Linked DNA regions of Homo sapiens: region 2 is linked to region 1. The links are contacts of gene promoters, found by promoter capture Hi-C in human tissues and cell types (Jung and others, 2019). All regions are on one chromosome and are shown on one strand. Each heading gives the region's core, a stretch centred on a gene start or on the middle of the fragment in contact. The rest is flanking DNA. Distances are from core to core; before and after follow the strand shown.

Evidence for each region. The method cuts DNA at HindIII sites, captures the fragments that hold promoters and counts their contacts. A contact is called where the count stands out against the background at its distance.
Region 2: a contact is called between a fragment that was not itself captured here and the fragment with the promoter of MAML1 in region 1, in 1 of the 25 tissues and cell types used here (aorta).

Annotation. Positions count from the first base shown.
Region 1 is chr5:179,730,410-179,735,920 of GRCh38, reverse strand. MAML1 (mastermind like transcriptional coactivator 1) reads right to left here and starts at 3,099. Exons shown (of 5, transcript NM_014757.5): 1 at 2,494-3,099. The coding sequence starts at 2,808. It overlaps CANX (calnexin), which reads right to left. Exons shown (of 15, transcript NM_001746.4): 15 at 4,280-5,511. RefSeq lists silencers at 2,507-2,566, 2,807-3,006 and enhancers at 2,195-2,695, 3,457-3,556. The HindIII fragment of the contact is 20,196 bases long and covers 1-5,511 here.
Region 2 is chr5:179,881,043-179,886,553 of GRCh38, reverse strand. The region is part of intron 7 of TBC1D9B (TBC1 domain family member 9B); the gene reads left to right. Among named protein-coding and RNA genes, the nearest start is that of TBC1D9B, 24 kb to the left of the region's middle. The HindIII fragment of the contact is 4,139 bases long and covers 195-4,333 here.

The DNA of each region.
Region 1 (5,511 bases), core at 1,850-4,349:
AGGTCAGGGGTTCGAGACCAGCCTGCCCAACAAGGAGAAACCCTGTCTCTACTAAAAATACCAAAATAAGCCAAGCGTGGTAGTGTGCGCCTGTAATCCCAGCTACTCAGGAAGCTGAGGCAGGAGAATCGCTTGAACCGGGGAGGCAGAGGTTGCAGTGAGCAGAAATCATGTCACTACACTCCAGCCTGGGTGACAGGGCGAGACGCTGTCTCAAAAAAAAATAAATAGGCTAGGTGCAGTGGCTCACACCTGTAATCCCAGCACTTTGGGAGGCCGAGGTGGGTGGATTATCTGAGGTCAGGAGTTCGAGACCAGCCTGGTCAACATGGTGAAACCCCATCTCTACTAAAAATACAAAAATTATTAGCTGGGCATGGTGGCCAGCACCTGTAATCCCAGCTAGTAGGGAGGCTGAGGCAGGAGAATCACTTGAACCTGGGAGGCGGAGATTGCTGTGACCCTAGATCGCGCCATTGCACTCCAGCCTGGGCAACAGGGCAAGACTCCATCTCAAAATAAATAAATAAATAAAACAAATAGCATAGATAATATGTTTCCTAAATGTTTTGACAAAGGAGATTCTTACTGCTGTGGGTTAGGCTGGTCAGGAACTAGCTTTAAGGCAGAAGAAAGAGATAAGCTGGGACTGGCAGGGTGGCAGGATTCTGAAAGGGATGGAGGAGGGTCCCACAGGCGGCCTTTAAATTTATGAAATACTGTATTTTATTTATTTATTTATTATTATCATACTTTAAGTTTTAGGGTACATGTGTACAATGTGCAGGTTAGTTACATACGTATACATGTGCCATGCTGGTGCGCTGCACCCACTAACTCGTCATCTAGCATTAGGTATATCTCCCAATGCTATCCCTTCCCCCGAAATACTGTATTTTCATGTCCACACTCATTTCTTTTTATTCTTAAAAGAATCCTGGGGGCGGCACGGTGCGGTGGCTCATGCCTATAATCTCAGCACTTTCAGAGATCAAGTTGGAAGAAAGGATCACTTGAGCCCAGGAGTTCAAGACCAGCCTAGGCAATATAGTGAGACCCCATCTCTAACAGAAAAAAAACTTTTTTTATTTAGCCAGGCATGGTGATGTGCAGCTGTGGTTGATCCCAGTTACTCAGGAGGCTGAGGCGGGAGGACTGAGGAGGCTGAGGCGGGAGGATTGAGGAGTCTTGAGCCAGGAAGGTTGAGGCTGCAGTGAGACATGACTGTGCCTCTGCACTCCAGCCTGGGCGACAGAGTGAGGGGAGGGCAGGGAAAGAACACGGGGCGATAATAAGCCCAACATGCCCCTAGTTTACAGATGAGAAAAGTGAAGATGAGAAGGCTTGACCAGTTGATACAATAAGCAATGAAATCTGAGTGGTTTTTTTTCTTCTAACCCAGCAATCGAGGCTAGTGTGGAAGAGAATGAGAAAAATAATTCAACCAGAGCAGAGGACCTGTGAGGGACATTAAAAGATAGGTTAGGTCAGACTGGTCCCAAATGCCAAACTAAAGACTTTGAACTTCATCCTTTCAAGCAAGAGAAGGATTTCCAGCATTTCGAGAATAAGGGAGAAAGAAACTAAATGCCTACAGACTGGTTAGTTAGCTAGGGACAGGCACTGCAATAGCCCAGGTGAGAGATAATAAAGGTATGAATTTAAAAATACACATAACAAATTAGATTTTAACATTGGTTTTAAACTAAAATCCCCAAGAAAACCACTGAAAAACCTTGTCTCTTTTGTAAATCTGTTTCAGGAAGAAAAACCTCTAACCAACAAATTTCAGGAACATTTACTGAGAGCCCAAAGGGAGTAATAATTGACCAACAATCTAACATCATCAGAGATTTTAAACAGGCCTGATAAATTAAAACTAGAATTGTCAACAATATTGCAGGAATCTCAAGTTCACAAAGTTCAGGCTACCTAAACAAGGAATACTTATATGCAACTCATTGAACATTTTACTAAGTTTTCCAAAAATTTCTTGATTTTCCATTCAGAGGAGTTTCAGTTGGTCAACCAAAGGCCGACTTATTTCCACATGAAAGCCCTGATCCTGCTCACAGCACAGGATCTTGTAAAGGGCAAGGACCCAATAAACATTTGCAGAATAAATGAGGCCAGGCCTACGGTGCAGGAACTCCCTCCATCACAGGCGACTCGAATGCTAGTCTATTTCGAATAAAGATCTCAACATCCCGGAATCAAGTCTGGAAGAAAAACCCTCCGGTTAGCGTTCGCCAGCCTTCCCAGGTCGGGCCTCCTGCAAGGCCCTCAAGGCGCTGTTTTCCCAAAGTAACGCCACCGTGCCACTTCCCAAAGATGACAACCTCTCAGCTCCCTGCCATGTTACCCTCTCTCCAGCCAGATCCAGGAGTCGCGGACGCCTGGGGAAGTCTCCCAGCGGCCCGATCCGCGTCAGAGGAAGCGTTTTCGGGAGAGGGGGCTGCCGCCACGACAAGCGCCTTCCCGCGCCCTACTCACCGTGGCCGGGCGGCCGTGCTCGGGGCCGTCAGCGGCGTCCAGGCGCGGGGCCGGGGCGGCGGGCGCCGGGGCCGTGGCGGCGGGCGGCTGCCTGTGCTTCCCGGCGCGCTTGGCCTTGGCCTGGATGCAGCGCTGGTGCAGGGCGAAGGTGTGTTGGCGCTCCAGCTCCAGGCGCTCGGGCGACACGGCCTCGTAGCGGGCCTCGCAGGTGCTGTGGTGGCGCCGGCACAGCTCGATGCGCCGGCGAAGGCGCTCCATGACCGCGCTGTGCCGCGGCAGCGCGAACTCCGCCATGGGGCAGGTGGGCAGCACCATGGGCCGCGGGCTGCACGGGCCGGGCCCGGGGCCGGGCCTCTCGGGGCCGGCTGGCACTGCGGGCTTCGCTCCCCGCGGCTACCCCTCTCCGCCTCACGGCCGCGCCATGCCCCCGAGGGCAGCGGAGCGGGCTCGCGCGCGGCGGCGGGTTTTCCTCCTGCCCCGCTCGGCCCGACCCCCAGCCGGCGCTTGCTGCCTACCTCAAGCCTCGGCCTCTCCCCACCGCCCCGGCCCCATTGTTTTCCGCGCTACCGCCGCGGCCGCCATCTTAAAATTGTTTTCGGGCCTCTCGGAAGAAGGCGGGGCCTCGGTAAGAGACCTTGTGCATCACGACTGATGAGCAGGGGCCCTGGCCAATCAGAGAAGGAAGAACCGGCCGCCCGAGGGCGTGGGGACGAGCACGCAAGAGGCGCGCTCGGGCGCCAGAGCGGTATTTAAAAGGAATTCTCAAGCGAAGGGCGGAGGGAAGCCCCTGGGCGGGCCTTAATCCTGGGGGCGGAGCTAAGCGTGACTGACAGGAGCCCGTCCAAGAGGCGGCTATTGGTTTCCTGCACAGCACCCGCTGAAGGCAGGCCCTTCCGGCTACCCCGAGAAAAGGGGAATCTGGCAGGCGAGTGCGGCGCAGCTGGCCAGTCCCTGTCGCCCGCCTGGCAGTACAGAGACCTTTTTTTTAAATTATTTTTTAAATTTCGACTTTGATAAACTCTAAGTAGCCACGCTATTTTAATGTCAGCCGTTTTACTTTGACCTTATTCCTTGTATCCAGCCCCATAATTGGTCAGAATCGTCTAGTGAGCTGGTAGTTTCCTCTTGCAACATTCCGAATCACTGGTAGTTTCCACCTATTTGTAAAAGCCCGAGCAAGTTTCAAAAGTGCAGTATTACTCACTACTTAAAAAAAAAGTCCAGAAGATGTGAGCAAAAGCATGCAAGAGTGCAGCTCCATTAGAGGGAACTGGAAATGCAAAGGACGACGTTTCACCACAACCACCGCCTTCCAGGCTCAAGCGATTCTCCTGCCTCAGCCTCTCCAGTAGCTGGGATTACAGGCATGCGCCACCACGCGCGGCTAATTTTGTATTTTTAGTAGAGACGGGGTGTCTCCATGTCGGTCAGGCTGGTCTCCCACTCCTGACCTCAGGTGATCCGCCCACCTCGGCCTGCCAAAGTACCGCGATTACAGGCGTGAGCCGCCGCGCCGGACCAAAAACAGTCCTTTAGGTAAAACTGAGTTACTCAACAAAACCAAACCAAGACAAATTATGCCCCATTATTAAAACTAATAGGCAAAGGGGAGTAGAGGGACTGGAGCAATCAAACAGTGTTAGTACTAAAACTAGATAGTGTGATGCCAAAGGATATCAGGAACTCTAGATATGGGCACTCTAATTGCTAAAAGGTTAAGCAGGAGGTGGCAGGAGGCTGCACATTGAGATACACCATCAGTAGTTCAAACATTCGTTACTCTAGCTTTTTACTAGGGCTCATGAGGTTTTATTTTAAAATCAAGAGAAAACAACAATCAAATATGTCTTCATACAAACGCAGCAGAAAAATACAAATCCTAATGTTTTAAATGGAGAAAGTGGGCCACCAAGGCAAAAGTGCCATAATGCAGTCCTGCTTTTTTTTTTTTAGCATTCAAACAAATTTTACACCAGAACTAAACTATTTCTTAATAGAAAAAATAGTAACTAGGAGCACTACATTCTGTGTACATACTTTTCTTTAGTATGTAATCTAAAAATTTAATAGCACATAAAAAACTGGGCTAACTTTCAAAAATACCCCTAAAGTATTTAAGTATATGTAAAATAATGGAGTCTGATTCTGAACAAATAATTTTCTAATAAAAATTTCAAAGTTCAATGGTTCCCCTAAGTCTTAAAGAATATTATCTACAAATTATCAGTAGCATTCCCTCCTTTTCTGAGCTGCTGTCCACACTATTATACAACAGAAACTACTGCACCGCAATCACATGGGCAGGAAGAGGCAAGGGCTAGACAGAAAAGACTGCATCAAACTCACGTGGTGAGATAAAAGTCATTATTTCACTGTCCATAATAGTTTCTGCCTAGTAGTGAACTCTCACATAGTGGCCAATTATACGAAGATCAACCCACTAATTGAACATAGTCACACACACACACTGAAGGTTACTATGAAGAAATTCAGTCAAAAGCAGACACTTAACACAGGGCTTTAATGTAACACCATTTAGTAACATGACAAATTGAAAAGTGAGGAGTACTTTGTGGATAAGAAAATGGAGGAACACATCTGATGGAGAGTGGGCATTTGACAACAATGGAACAGGTAACCAGCATGTAAAATCAAAATATAAGTGTCTTTTTAAGAGCTGAAAGCTGCTGCTGGTCATTCATTAATGTGTCAGACATTTAATCAGGATGCTGGACCTTCAAAATAACTGAAAAAAGAACCAAGAAAAGGCGTTTTTGTTTTCAACAAACTTTACTAAATAACCCTGGAAAGGCAATGAACGATCTGACAATTTAAGCTCTAATGATTTAAAGCTCAGCTAGAAGAAAGTGAGGCATGACATATACTGTCAACGGAGGGTGAAGGAGGCAGATTTCTGGAAATGCAATGATCCCACACATTTGCTTCAAGGAGAAACCTGCAGACATATTTTCAGGTCTTGCTAAGTAACAACTGTTTATTTGTAATCAATACATTTGG
Region 2 (5,511 bases), core at 1,015-3,514, 150 kb before region 1:
AATGTGGATTGCAGACATGAAGAAAGGTGTGGAGAAGGTTGGGCTTCATCTGGGATTTCAAGAAAGAGTGAAGTTGGATTGAGTGGCAGGGGCAGTGAACAGGGTGGTCGAGCCTCCTCTGCCTCCATGAGGCCCCACACTTCCTGAAAGCTGAGTAAGCACCACTCACGGCCCCTCCCAGGCACTCGGCTTCATGCATCCAAACACATTTTATTGCATTCCTGTTAGGTGCCAGCTGCTATTCTAGGCCCCAGGAGTAGAACAGTGAACACATCGGACAGAGTGCCTGTTCACTTAGAGCTGTATTCCAGTGAGGGAGGCAGTAAGCAAATAAACATACAATATGTCAGGCAGTGATAAGGGCTGTGGGTAGAAATAAAGCAGGATGAGGGGATCAGGAGTGCCAGGGGAAAGAAGGGGGCTCCATTTTCTCTCTGTTGCTCATGGGCAACCTCTCTGATCAGGCAGCACTGGAGGAGAAACTCGAAAGAAGCAGGGGAACTAGCCATAGCCTGTCTGGGGCAGGGTGTTGGAGGCAGAGAGCACAGCAAGCTGGGAGACAGGATTGGATGTGGCACGGGCTTCTGGGACCAGGGCTTAGGAGACTGACCAGGTGTAGGAGGTGAGACCAGAGAGGTGGCAGAAGGCCAAGTCACCGAAAGCCCGTAGGCCCTGTGAGTGCTGCAGCTTTGACTTCAGGTGAGAGGGGAAGCCAGTGAAGAGTCATGACCAGAGGAGGGCACGACCTGTTTACGTGTTAATGGGGTTACTGTGGCCGTCCATGTTGACAGTGGATTAGAGGTGCCCCGTCTAGTACAGCAGCCACGTGTGGCCATGGAGCACTGGAAATCCAGCGGGTGCCAATGGAAATGTGCTGTGAGTGTTCAGATCACTGTACACGGGTTTTGGAGACTTCGTATGAAAAGAAAAACGTAAAATACCTCCATCTTTTTTTTTTTGGGGGGGGGACAGAGTCTTGCTCTGTCACCTAGGCTGGAGTGCAGTGGGGCAGTCTTGGCTCACTGCATCCTCTGCCTCCCAGGTTCAAGTGATTCTCCTGCCTCAGCCTCCCGAGTAGCTGGGATTACAGGCGTCCACCACCACGCCCGGCTTATTTTGTATTTTTAGTAGAGACGGGTTTTTGCCATGTTGGCCAGTCTGGTCTTGAACTCCTGACCTCAGGCGATCCACCTGCCTCAGCCTCCCAAAGTGCTGGGATTACAGGGGTGAGCCACCGTGCCTGGCCACTCCATCATTTTTTAATTGATTCCTGTTGAAATGCGAGTATTTTGGATATATTGGATTAAGTCAAATATATTGTTAAAATTAATCTCAATAATTTACTTTAGGACTTTACAATGTGGCTACTAGAAAATTTACAATTACATTTGTGGCTCTCATCATCTCTCTTGGGCAGTGCTGGACTAGAGAGTGGCAAGAATAGAAGCAAGGAGGCCGGCTGGAGCCCATCACAGAAGCAGGGGCACAAGATGATGGAGTCGAGCATCAAGGGTAGGAACAGTGTAGGTGTAAGAAGGGGTCAGATTCAGGAGACGCTATTGTGATAAAATACACATAACAACATTTACCATTAAGTACATTGACATTGCTATGCCATCACCACCATCCATCCACAGAACTTTTTCAGTTTTGCAAAACTGAAACTCTGAACCCATTAAACAGTAACTCCTCAGCCCCCACTCCCCCAGCCCCTGGCAAGCACCATTCTACCTTTTTGACTTGAATTGAACTATTCTAGGTAATGCACATAAGTGGAAGCATATAGTATTTTCCCTTTTGTGCCTGGCTTATTTCATTCAGCGTGATGTCCTCCAGGTTCATCCCTGTTGTAGCGTGCTCAAGATTTCTTTTTTAAGGCTGAATCATATGCCATTGTATGGATAAGCCACGTTTTGTTCACTGTTGAAACTTGGACTGCTTCCACCTCATGGCTATTATGAGTAACACTGCTGTGAACATGGGTGTACAGATGTCTGTTTGAATCTTTACTTTCAGTTCTTTTGGGGACATACCCTGGAGTGGAATTGCTGGATTGTATAGCAGTTCTATTTTTAATATTTCAAGGAACCTCCGTGCTATGCTCTATCCACCAACTGTGCACCACAGTTGGAGGCCAGACCACCAACTGTGGCATGACTCTGTGCAGACACAGAGCCAGTAGCTGTGCTGAGGCAATGGCGGGAAGGAAGAGGGGCTCTGATAGTCCTAAGAGCCAAGGAATCCAGAAGTCACCAGAATACCCCTCACAAGAGACTACTCAGCAAATGGAAACCTCAACAAGTGAATCTGAGAGACAGCCAGTGAAATTGGGAGCCGATTTCTCAGGCTCCAGTTTATAGAGGAGGCTTTTTTTTATTAATGGAAGCACAAAATCCTGCTTTATTTCTACCCACAGCCTTATCGCTGCCTGACGTATTATACGGCTGAGGAAAGATCAAGAATGTGAGGGAAACCCATGCCCTTAACAAAAACTTCTCTTCTGAAAGACAAGAGCTCACCCCAAGAAAAAAAGGACTGGGATTGAACAGAGCAGGAACACTTGGGGTAAAGGAGAAAAGCTTTAGATACAAGAAAGAGGTGGCCAATCCCAGAAAGTACAGGAGCAAGGACTACACAGACCGACCACAGCAGGGGAAAGGCCTCTCCAGCTGTGGAGTTCAGAAAGCTACTCTGACCCACAACTGCCCGTACGTAGAACATCCTGCTGAAAGAACAGGAAAAGATGCTGATCACACCCTGTACAAAGATATTGCGGGGAGAAAGTGAACCAGATAACCTCCCACAGATAATGAAAGCACACCAGAAAAACATTCCTCCAGGCAGATGAAAACTGTGTCCTGATGTTTCTGAGTGATCTCAAAGGAATTAGAAAAACGACAGAAACTACTAAAGAATGGTATAAATTAAAAATGTTTAAAAAGCTCAGGTTAAAAGTGACTAGTCAACAGAAAAATATGAAGAGAGTTGACAGGACTCAGGAGGAAATAAGAAAAAAAAAACCAGATATTTCTGAAATGAAAATCAGGAACACAAGAATGAAAATACATTAAGGTAAATAAGGAAGAGATAGGAGAAAAATGGAGTCAGAGGAGACTCAAACAAATAGAGAAGAAGTTGTCCAGAGAAGGGATAAAGAAGTTAGGCAAAGAAGATCAAACTTACGTATAATCGTAGTGCCATCCCACACCCTTCCCAGAAAAAAGCAGTGGAATAACAGATAATAGAAACTGTGATTCAGGAAAACTGATAAAATAAGCTTGAACTTGTATAGTGGAAGGACACATTGAATGTCTAGAAAAATCAACACAAAATAGTCGATATTGACATAAAATCTCATAAAACTGTTCAATTTTAAAGATTAAAAAATTATTCCAGGCTGGGCACAGTGGCTCACACCTGTAATCCCAGCACTTTGGGAGGCTGAAGCAGGCAGATCACTTGAGGCCAGAAGTTCAAAACCAGCCTGGCCAACATGGTGAAACTCTGTCTCTACTAAAAATACAAAACTAAGCTAGGTATAGTGGCACATGCCTGGAATCACAGCTACTTGGGAGGCTGAGGCACAAGAATCACTTGAACCCAGGAGGTGGGAGAAGGAGGTTGCAATGGGCCACGATCCTGAGAGATTCCTCCTCAAGAGAGGTATCAGACTTTGTGATACAGTAACAACATTTTAGAGTAACTTTTTGTTGGGGGTTGGGGAGGGTGTCTCCTGGAGTGCAGTGGCACAATCTCGGCTCACTGCAACCTCTGCCTCCCAGGTTCAAGCAGTCTTGTGCCTCAGGCCCGTGAGTAGCTGGGACTACGTGTATGTGCCACCATGCCTGGCTAATTTTTGTATTTTTTGTAGAGATGGGGTTGAGATTTCACCATGTTGGCCAGACTGATCTCGAACTCCTGACCTAGGGTGATCCACCTGCCTCAGCCTCCCAGAGTGCTGAGATTATACAGAGTAACATTTTTAAGATATACAATAAAAGAAGCTGTGACCCAGGGATTTTATACCCAGCCAAACTGACGTTCAGGTATAAAGACCATAGGCTGTAAAGAACATGCAGAGGAGTTCAGGGGCTCTCTCAGCTTCTGTGGAGTCTGCTGGAGAACAGACTCCAGATAACCAAGGAGTGATGGAAGCAGCTTGGGCCTAACGACTGGTGGTAGCATTGATTATATTTAGCTGTGGAATTAAGGTTAGATAGTAGGAATAGAGGTGACAGTATATAAATGTTATAATCTCTGATGATGGAGACATAGTACAATCAAAACCTGAGGTTAGGGAGGTATATGAGGCTGGGCTTGATGGCTCATGCCTGTAATCCCAACACTTTGGGAGGCCGAGGCAGGCGGGTCACCTGAAGTTGGGAGTTTGAGACCAGCCTGGCCAATATGGTGAAACCTCGTCTCTATTAAAAATACAAAAATTAGCCGGGCATGGTGGCACACACCTGTAATCCCAGCTACTTGGGAACCTGAGGCAGGAGAATTGCCTGAGCCCAGGAGGCAGAGGTTGCAGTGAGCTGAGATCACACCTCTGTACTCCTGCCTGGGTGACAGAGCAAGACTCCATCTCAAAAAAAAAAAAAAAACGGAAGGTATATGGAAAGATATGGAAAATAGAATAAGCTCACTGATTGCCTTATTAATTAAAAATATATCCTTTTGATCAGATGTTGGCAGAGAGGGAGGAAAGTGGGAAGAAAAGGCCTGCTAGCTAATTTCAATATTGCTTGTAGTAGGGAACTGACATCTTAAAAAGAGAGGACTAAGAAACTATATAATGATATTAGCATAAAATGTTACAGTATAAATATACACTTTCTAACAGGGAAAAAAACTTGAAAGGGGGAAAGGAGACAGTGAGATTAAGCATCTCTTTCAAGAAATTTTGTATAAAGGTCAACAGAGTAATGGAGGTAACTTCTGGGAGGGCTAGAATTTTAATTGAAGTTTAACATATATATCCAAAAGTAAACATACGGTGTACAACTGGATGAATCTTAGCAGAGGGAGCATAATAGGTGAACAGCACCCAGCCAAAGTGAGGGTGGGCTTTAGAGGAGTAACAGTGCAGTTCTGTGCTGGGAGAGCGACTCCTGCAGAGAAGGCAGGGGATGGGGTCCAGGTGCAGGCAGGTGGGCGGGCAGGAGGGCACCCGTGGAGGGCTCGGATTGTTCCCTGTTCTCAGTTAAACAGGAAGAAGTGTGGTTCAGTGGGATGCAAGGATGGCAAGTGGTTTTGGAGGTTTATGTGAGGTGGTTACCTCGGGGAAGAGGGGAGGACTGGACTAGGAATACATAAGATCCCAGGCAGCTCTGAGCACCCACCTGAGGCCAGTAAGCCCGAATGTAAGGTGGGACTTGAGCCAAGCTTCTGCCGAAAGCCGCCTGGTCCCTGAGCTTGGTGCCACGCTTGCCGCCTCGCCAGGAGCACACGTTGGCTGCACGCCACACACCCGGCGGTCTGGCCCCTTCCCTGGCCAGGAGCACACGT